Linked DNA regions of Homo sapiens: regions 2 and 3 are each linked to region 1. Evidence: promoter capture Hi-C in human tissues and cell types (Jung and others, 2019). All regions are on one chromosome and are shown on one strand. The core of a region is centred on a gene start or on the middle of the fragment in contact, and the rest is flanking DNA. Distances in the headings are between cores, read along the strand shown. Region 1 holds the start of ID1 (inhibitor of DNA binding 1). Region 2 overlaps TPX2 (TPX2 microtubule nucleation factor). Region 3 overlaps TPX2 (TPX2 microtubule nucleation factor).

Region 1 (3,054 bases), core at 228-2,727:
GCCTTCCAAATTGTTGGGATTACAGGCGTGAGCCACCGCGCAGCCCTTCATTTTTTAAAATAAGAAATAAATGAAAAAAGATGATCAAGACAAACTCTTCATACAGTGCCCGCTGTACAAAGTAAGAAATTAATAATGGTCACGTTTGTGATTATTATTTAAACACCAAGCAGATATTAAATATTAGGGCTCAGAGAGGGCATGCGACCCGCCTGAATTCACTCAGCTGCAGAGCTGGAAAGAGAACTCAGGCCTTTTTCCCCACGCTGGAAGGGGTAGCTGGGGCGGAGAGGTGGGGGGAGCGGTGAAGAAACCCCAAGCGGCCCAAGCTGTGGGTCTGGGTTGGGAGACTCGCAGGTGTGGGGCGGGGAGGTAAGGTGACCCTTGCTCAGCGACCGCGCCCGCAAGAAACGCATTCCCAGGCCTCCCGCCCGGGGTCTGCAGGTGACGGGCTGGGGGGAGCACGGGAACTAGCTAGACCAGTTTGTCGTCTCCATGGCGACCGCCCGCGCGGCGCCAGCCTGACAGTCCGTCCGGGTTTTATGAATGGGTGACGTCACAGGCCTGGCGTCTAACGGTCTGAGCCGCTGGTTCAGACGCTGACACAGACCGGCCCGGGAAGGGAGGGGGGAGACTGTAGCTCCGCAGCTGCCGCGCCGTGGGAGGGAGACCCTGCTCTGAGGTCTTTGAGAAGAAAATTTAAAAAGCAGCCAAAAATGGGAAAAAACATTAAAAAATCACGAACTGTTGCAGGTTCAGGAAATTTTTGCAAGGAGCTGCAAATTCAAGGTGGAATCGAATGCAGCCTCACTCCACTGCGCTCTATCTAGTTCACTTCCCAGCCACCCAGCCCCAAACTTACTAGACTTTCCCGAATTAATTGCTCCCACCCGGGAGGGATCTGGGTAGGCCCTCCGGGTCTCAGGAACACGAACAGCAACATTATTTAGGAATTGAGAAAGCCCAGGGGAGCAGATGTAAAGGAGCGCCCGCTTTAAATTTCGGTCCTGATATTTGTAGATCAGGGTCCGAGAAGCATCTTCCAAGAGGGTCCGGAAACCCAGGCTCTCTGGGCTATCCAGAGCCAGCCGCTTCTCCGTTCGGGCCTCAATTTCTCTCATCTGTGAAATGGAGCTGGAGAAGTGAGAAAGTGAATATGGGAAAAACTGATTCCTGAGGTCTTTTCATTATAAGGCAATGCCTGCTTAGCTTCCTTGCCTCCTTCCAGAGGAGCCCAGTGCGGCCCTCGCCTCTACCCGCTGCCCTGCCCGGTGCCCTGCCACCGACCCACCCTTGCTGTTCTGAAACCCGGGTCGTCTTTCCACACTGCGAGCAGGCACTAGACGAGCAGGAGGCTGGACCTAGGAGCGCGGGTCACGCCCCCATGCCGCCCATTGGCTGCTTTTGAACGTTCTGAGCCCGCCCCTCCGGGGGCCGTGGCGTGTTTATAAAAGACAAGCTGTGGCTCCGCACTCTCATTCCACGTTCTTAACTGTTCCATTTTCCGTATCTGCTTCGGGCTTCCACCTCATTTTTTTCGCTTTGCCCATTCTGTTTCAGCCAGTCGCCAAGAATCATGAAAGTCGCCAGTGGCAGCACCGCCACCGCCGCCGCGGGCCCCAGCTGCGCGCTGAAGGCCGGCAAGACAGCGAGCGGTGCGGGCGAGGTGGTGCGCTGTCTGTCTGAGCAGAGCGTGGCCATCTCGCGCTGCGCCGGGGGCGCCGGGGCGCGCCTGCCTGCCCTGCTGGACGAGCAGCAGGTAAACGTGCTGCTCTACGACATGAACGGCTGTTACTCACGCCTCAAGGAGCTGGTGCCCACCCTGCCCCAGAACCGCAAGGTGAGCAAGGTGGAGATTCTCCAGCACGTCATCGACTACATCAGGGACCTTCAGTTGGAGCTGAACTCGGAATCCGAAGTTGGAACCCCCGGGGGCCGAGGGCTGCCGGTCCGGGCTCCGCTCAGCACCCTCAACGGCGAGATCAGCGCCCTGACGGCCGAGGTGAGATCCAGATCCGACCACTAGATCATCCTTATACCGACGGGGAAACGGAGGCCAGAGAGGGCGTGGGCGCTTGCACCACTTCCGTCCCATCCTTGCGGGTACCTGGCTATGCGGGGGTGCCTAAGGAGCCTGGAAAAAGCGCTCCCCCGTCGTGCTTCCTGGGGAAGGGGGCGTTCGCTGCGCTCGGAGCGGCGTCCCTTCCAACCCGCCGGTCTCATTTCTTCTCGTTTTCACAGGCGGCATGCGTTCCTGCGGACGATCGCATCTTGTGTCGCTGAAGCGCCTCCCCCAGGGACCGGCGGACCCCAGCCATCCAGGGGGCAAGAGGAATTACGTGCTCTGTGGGTCTCCCCCAACGCGCCTCGCCGGATCTGAGGGAGAACAAGACCGATCGGCGGCCACTGCGCCCTTAACTGCATCCAGCCTGGGGCTGAGGCTGAGGCACTGGCGAGGAGAGGGCGCTCCTCTCTGCACACCTACTAGTCACCAGAGACTTTAGGGGGTGGGATTCCACTCGTGTGTTTCTATTTTTTGAAAAGCAGACATTTTAAAAAATGGTCACGTTTGGTGCTTCTCAGATTTCTGAGGAAATTGCTTTGTATTGTATATTACAATGATCACCGACTGAAAATATTGTTTTACAATAGTTCTGTGGGGCTGTTTTTTTGTTATTAAACAAATAATTTAGATGGTGGTAAAGTTGTAGTGACTTCTTGGGTTGAGGGGAGGGGCCTGGGCTGGGGGTTGACCCCTGACCCTCTTCACAGCTGGTTCTGGGAGGAGAATTGGAGGGCTACATCTGGATTGTTGCTCTTACCGGCCTGAATGAGTGTTTCCGGTGTCTTTAAAGTCTATTCTTCCCCCACCATCCCTGCCCATTTCCCTGCTCCCCAGTGTTATAAAACTAAATACTCCAGACCTCTGGGGTTTCTCACAGTGATCATTGGGCCATCTAGATCACCTGGGGAGGTTGTTAAAATGCAGATGAACCTGCCAGGGCCCCCTCTGTATTGGGAGTATTGAGCAAGCCATTTAAGTTGGAGAACCTG
Region 2 (3,054 bases), core at 370-2,869, 180 kb after region 1:
GTGGCGCGATCTCGACTCACTGCAACGTCCACCTCTTGGGTGCAAGAGATTCTCGTGCCTCAGCTTCCCGAGTAGCTGGGATTACAGGTGTGTGCCACCATGCCCAGCTACTTTTTGGATTTTAAGTAGAGACCAAGTTTTGCTCTGTTGGCCAGGCTGGTCTTGAACTCCTGGCCTCAAGTGATCCGCCCGCCTCAACCTCCCAAAGTGCTGTGATTACAGGTGTGAGCCACTGCGCCTGGCCAAGTACAGCATTTTTTAATATTATTATTATGTTCTAGTGGCCAAAATGATTTTGTTAGATTTTATAGTATGAAAATAATGAAATATTCTTCTTTATTCTAATGGAAATTTAAATATTAAGCATAACTTTTCAAATAATATATGACTCAGAGTCTGATATGTCCTGCTTTCAGAATACTAGTCCTGGCAAAAGGAAAGAGAAATTATATTATGCAATTTTTATTTAAAACTTTGTACAGTTACAGCTAAATAATGGTTACATGTATCTTTGAAACATGGCTTATTTCTAAAATAGATTTGGTTTTGATCTACCACTGTTATGTGACAAGACCTAAATTGAAAGATTCATTCTATATTAGTTATGAAAATTGACAAGGTTTCACTGGCCAGGTAAATTAATATTTTCAATGAGTGGTGGTGATGTCTTAATATTGATGCTTTAACATAGTTTTTAACTTTCTCCATTTGATTTTCTGTAAGATGTGGTCTTGATGCTTTTATATTGATTTCATAAAATTGGGAGTTTTCACTTGGTCTTCTTTTGTTATTTATTTATTTATTTATTTTCCTTCTTGTTTTGCTTTTTAGAGACAGGGTCTTGCTCCGTCACCCAGGCTGGAGTGCAGTGGCGTGATCATGGCTCACTTCAGTGTCCAACTCCTGGGCTCAAGCAATCCTCCTGCCTTAGCCTTCCAAGTAATTGGGACTATATATAGGTGCATGCCACCATGCTTACCTAATTTTTATATTTTCTTAGGAGACAGGGTCTCATTATGTTGCCCAGGCTGGTCTTGAGCTCCTGGCCTCAAGCAGTTCTCCTGCTTTGGCCTTCTAAATTGCTAGAATTACAGGTTTGAGCCATTCTGTTCAGGCTTTACTTGGTCTTTAGGAAGGCCTTATATCTTTTTTTTTTTTTTTTTTTTTGAGACAGAGTCTCGCTCTGTCGCCTAGGCCAGAGTGCAGTGGCGCTCATTTGGCTCACTTGGCTCACTGCATGCTCCGCCTTCCAGGTTCATGCCATTCTCCTGCCTCAGCCTCCCGAGTAGCTGAGACTACAGGCGCCTGCCACCACGCCCGGTTAATTTTTTGTATTTTTAATAGAGACGGGATTTCACCGTGTTAGCCAGGATGGTCTCGATCTCCTGACCTCGTGATCCCCCTGCCTCGGCCTCCCAAAGTGCTGGGATTACAGGCGTGAGCCACTGTGACCGGCCAGGAAGGCCTTATATCTTAAAGCTGGAATAAGCAAAAATTTTTTGTGTTAATAACAAGCAAAATAATTGGCATTGTCAATAGAAAGTATAGGCCTGGCCAGGCACAGTGGCTTAACGCCTATAATCCCAGCACTTTGGGAGGCTGAGGTGGGTGGATTGCTTGAGCCCAGTAGTTCAAGACCAGCCTGGGCAACATAGTGAAACCCTGTCTCTACAAAGAATATAAAAATTAGCTGGGCATGGTGGTGCATGCCTGTAATCCCAGCTGCTTGGGAGGCTGAGGTGGGAAGATCACCTGAGTCCAGGGAGGTTGGATTTGTAGTGAGCCTTTATGCCCCTGCACTCTAGCCTGGGCAACAGAGTGAGACCCTGTCTCAAAAAAAAGAAAGTCAGTCTAGGCCCGTGCAGTGATAAGGAACCTGTCAGACATGGATGGATTTTCAGTTCAGAAGATGACAGTAGAGTTTACCCAAAGGCTACCTTAGTCATACCCCTCAATAAAAGAGGAATAGGGGAGAAGTAACTGAATGTTGGTTGGTTTGACCAATGTAAGCTGAGCTGACTGTTGTGGGCCCACCACTCTGTGGTTGGTTTATCCCTCTCTGGGCTACATAGGTGAATCACCACTTACAAGTAAACTGGGTCTTGCGGATCTAGATGAACATCTGTCATCTCTGTTTACAGACCTGTTACCCTCCAAATCTTCTGTGACCAAGATTTGCAGAGACCCACAGACTCCTGTACTGCAAACCAAACACCGTGCACGGGCTGTGACCTGCAAAAGTACAGCAGAGCTGGAGGCTGAGGAGCTCGAGAAATTGCAACAGTAAGTCCCACTGGCAGTATCTGAGGAAGAGTTCCACGAACCTGCCTACTTTATTTTCAGTTCTGTTAGGGTGACAGTTGCTATTTTTCTTTCCGTAAAAATTTATGGCATTTGAGTAGTAGGCTCTGCAGGCTACGCCCCTGCCTATATGATTTAAGGACTATAGTGGGAATATGGAGATGTTCTGGAGTATAAACTGGTAAAAATTGAATCCAGGCTGGGTGTGGTGGTTCACACCTGTAATCCCAGTACCTTGGGAGGCCGAGGCAAGAGGATCACTTGAGTCCAGGAGTTTGAGACCAGCCTGGGCAACATGGTGAAACCCCATCTCTACAACAAATACCAAAAAAAAATTAGCTGGGCATGGTGGCATGCGTCTGTAGTCCCACCTACTAGGGGGCAGCCTGAACCCAGGAGGTCAATGCTTCAGTGAGCCAAGATCACGCCAATATACTCCAGCTTGGGTGACAAAGCGAGACTGTCTTGCACATACACACATACACACACACACACACACACACACACACACACACACACACACAAAATCTAATCCAGAGGTTGCAGTAGAAGAACTTACTTAGGATTTCAATTAAGGAATGCCCTCTAAGGTTAAGTTAGGTAGATCCCACCCTTTTGTGACTCCCCAAGGGATTGTTACAGCTATTATTAGTGGAGGGAAATGGAAACTTAGTGTGATTCGTAGCATTGGAGTTTATTTCCTGTATCCTTCTTCCATTCCTTTTTGTGCTTCTTTTGAGGAGGGGGAGCTTC
Region 3 (3,054 bases), core at 301-2,800, 150 kb after region 1:
TGCTCTTCTGCGTTAAGTGGGAGACAATGTCACAAGTTAAAAGCTCTTATTCCTATGATGCCCCCTCGGATTTCATCAATTTTTCATCCTTGGATGATGAAGGAGATACTCAAAACATAGATTCATGGTTTGGTAAGTGCCTGCTTTCTCTGGCTATTTTAAGGATTAGTGGCTTGCTTTGTGCTGAAGACCTTTCAATAATAGAAGGGGTTGCAAGAAAAGAACTAAAATATCAACTTCTTTCTGCACCAAGACATTCTGTCATCCATGATATTATGGGAATAATTGAAATGCCCAGTATTTGGGGAATGGATTGTAAGTACAAAGCATATGTTGTTTTGTAGTTCAGAATGGCAGATTTAAGCTTTAGGGACCTATGGGAAAGTTCAGATGAACCAGTGTTCAACAAAACTCCATGCTCAAATATGTCTGTAGTGATGGCAGCCACATAAAAACTTTGTCTACTATCATTAGGGATAGATTATATCACAGCTAGGATATTGACATTCATACAATCTACCAGTTTTACTCAGATTTCTCCAGTTTTACTTGTATGTGTATTAAGTTCTCTGTGGTTTTATCACCTGTGTTGGTTTATGTGTCTACCATCACAGTCAAGATCTTTTATAATTACCCTCACCTCCCTCCTGCCACCCCTCCCTCAATTCATTTTTTTTTTTTTTTTTTTTGAGGCTGTAGTCTCGCTCTGTTGCCCAGGCTGGAGTGCAGTGGTACAATCTCAGCTCACTGTAACCTCCGCCACTCTTGTTCAAGCGGTTCTGCCTCAGCCGCCCAAGTAGCTGGGATTACAGGCGCCCACCAGCATGCCTAACTAATTTTTGTATTTTTAGTAGAGACAGTGTTTTGCCATGTTGGCCAGGCTAGTCTTGAACCCCTGACCTCAGGTGATCCACCCACCTCAGCCTCCCAAAGTGCTGGGATTACAGGCGTGAGCCACTGCGCCTGGCCCTCAATTCATTTTTAAATGGAAGGATTATGCTACTAAGAACCCATTCCCAGAAACAGTATTGCTTGGCCAATGGTAAGTAAGAATGTGGTTACATTTTTACATTACTTTGAAATAATATCTGAGACTAGTTGTTGAGGCCCCTTTGATTCTTTCTCTCATGTCTCCATCCTCCTTATCGGGAGAAATCACTATGAATATGTGGTGGGGAACAGAAGTGAGTCCATTGCAGCTGTACTTATCCGTATAGTGCACTGTCCAAATGTGTTGACAGGTGCCATTTTTTGGAAAAGGACTTTAATGGCATCTAGTGGGGATCCTGAGAGGAGTCGTCTGTTGGAAGTGGTGTGGGAGGAAGGGTAAATAAATACAAGGGCCAGCTGTCCTGCGGGGATCTTCCCCATGCCCTTGCTTCACTGGAACTGTAAGGAAATGGCTGGGCTGTCTGAGGATTTCTTTTTCTAAGCTTTTCTTTAAAATAAAAAAGAAAAGAAAAGATTAGCCTAAGAATACTGTTAAATACAATTTGGAAGAAAAAAAATGACCCCACTATTTTTCCAAAACTACCTTAGTTTTAAAACATTTTTATTTTTTTTTCTTTTTGTTTTTGCCAGAGTTCTTTTGGCTAACAAAACTACCTCAGTTTTAATATATTACTTTCCAATTTCTTTCCCAAATAAATAGTCACATCTTTCTACACAGTTGCAATCAGAATGTACATGCACAGGGTAGTTATTGCTGTGTCTCACTGCATTCCTGAAACTATCAGTAGGCTGTTGGTAGAACAGACCCTTCACTGCTTTGTACTGACTTCTGGGCACAGTAGAATCTAAGATAAAATTTCTTGAGAGAACCTAGCTCTGCTCTACCCTCACACACCCCTTATTCCTCCCACCACCCCACTGAGGAGGAAACTCTGTAAGACTATACAGTATCTCTTGTAAGCCCTACAGTTTTTGATGGTTACAGTTTTCTTTCGTTTTTTTTTTTTTTTTTTTTTTGAGATGGAGTCTTGCTCTGTCGCCAGGCTGTAGTGCAGTGGTGCGGTCTCAGCTTACTGCAAATTCCACCTTCCAGGTTCAAGCGATTCCCCTGCCTCAGCTTCTCAAGTAGCTGGGATTAAAGGCATGTGCCACCACGCCTGGCTAATTTTTTGTATTTTAGTAGAGACGGGGTTTCACCATGTTGGCCAAGACAGTCTCGATCTCCTGACCTCATGACCCACCCGCCTCGGCCTCCCAAAGTGCTGGGATTACAGGTGTGAGCCATCGCTCCCGGCTGGTTACAGTTTTCTTTAAGAGGAACATGATATATTTAGGGAGTAGATAAAGCCAGTTCATATTTGTATGACCCTAAATGTGTACCAAACAAAGATAAGGAGTTATTCACAATGCAGAATCTGTACTTTTCCTTTTTTATAATACATTGTTCAATGTTGCCAGTTTTTAGTGATTGTTCTTATAGTCTATCTCGGATGTGTAATGTGTACTTTTTCTTTTGATTGCTAGAACTTTGCTTGTACTTGCCACATGAGTTGGAAGTGTACTGGTAGGGAGCTTTAGTTTGCATTTTAAATGCGTGATAGTGATTTGTTTTGCTTCCTTGCTGATCAGACAATGATGATCTTCCCTTTTCACAGAGGAGAAGGCCAATTTGGAGAATAAGTTACTGGGGAAGAATGGAACTGGAGGGCTTTTTCAGGGCAAAACTCCTTTGAGAAAGGCTAATCTTCAGCAAGCTATTGTCACACCTTTGAAACCAGGTAAGAAAACATCTTAGAAAAAAGCTCCTTGATAGAATGGTGGGACAGTGTTTTAGAAGCCTGAGGTTCTGGGAAAATTACCTAAATGCTCTATCTCTTTGTTTATTATTGGTGAAATGGGCTAATTCATTTCATGATAAATGTAAAACTAATGATGTGCTACACTTAAAAAAAAATCTCTTGGAGCTTAAGCTAACATAGAATTTTTTTTTTTTTTTCTTTAAGATGGGGTCTGGTTCTGTCACCCAGGCTGGTGGAGTACAGTGGCACAGTCATAGCTCACTGCAGCCTCAAACTCCTGAGCTCTTAGTAACTGGGACTACAG

The links. Contacts are between HindIII fragments. The study calls those that stand out against the background at their distance.
Region 2: a fragment that was not itself captured here is called in contact with the fragment with the promoter of ID1 in region 1 in 1 of the 25 tissues and cell types used here (mesenchymal stem cells).
Region 3: a contact is called between a fragment that was not itself captured here and the fragment with the promoter of ID1 in region 1, in 1 of the 25 tissues and cell types used here (mesenchymal stem cells).

Annotation. Positions count from the first base shown.
Region 1 is chr20:31,603,812-31,606,865 of GRCh38, forward strand. ID1 (inhibitor of DNA binding 1) reads left to right here and starts at 1,478. Exons shown (of 2, transcript NM_002165.4): 1 at 1,478-2,002; 2 at 2,242-2,699. The coding sequence starts at 1,577. The coding sequence ends at 2,283. LOC105372588 (a long non-coding RNA gene) reads right to left here and starts at 1,384. Exons shown (of 2, transcript XR_936669.2): 1 at 1,292-1,384; 2 at 880-1,134. RefSeq lists enhancers at 102-940, 676-855, 1,245-1,915, 1,916-2,585, 2,632-3,054. The HindIII fragment of the contact is 38,824 bases long and covers 1-3,054 here.
Region 2 is chr20:31,780,108-31,783,161 of GRCh38, forward strand. It overlaps TPX2 (TPX2 microtubule nucleation factor), which reads left to right. Exons shown (of 18, transcript NM_012112.5): 11 at 2,142-2,283. Among named protein-coding and RNA genes, the nearest start is that of MYLK2, 38 kb to the right of the region's middle. The HindIII fragment of the contact is 7,023 bases long and covers 1-3,054 here.
Region 3 is chr20:31,757,451-31,760,504 of GRCh38, forward strand. It overlaps TPX2 (TPX2 microtubule nucleation factor), which reads left to right. Exons shown (of 18, transcript NM_012112.5): 3 at 1-132; 4 at 2,607-2,729. The coding sequence starts at 27. Among named protein-coding and RNA genes, the nearest start is that of TPX2, 20 kb to the left of the region's middle. The HindIII fragment of the contact is 7,137 bases long and covers 1-3,054 here.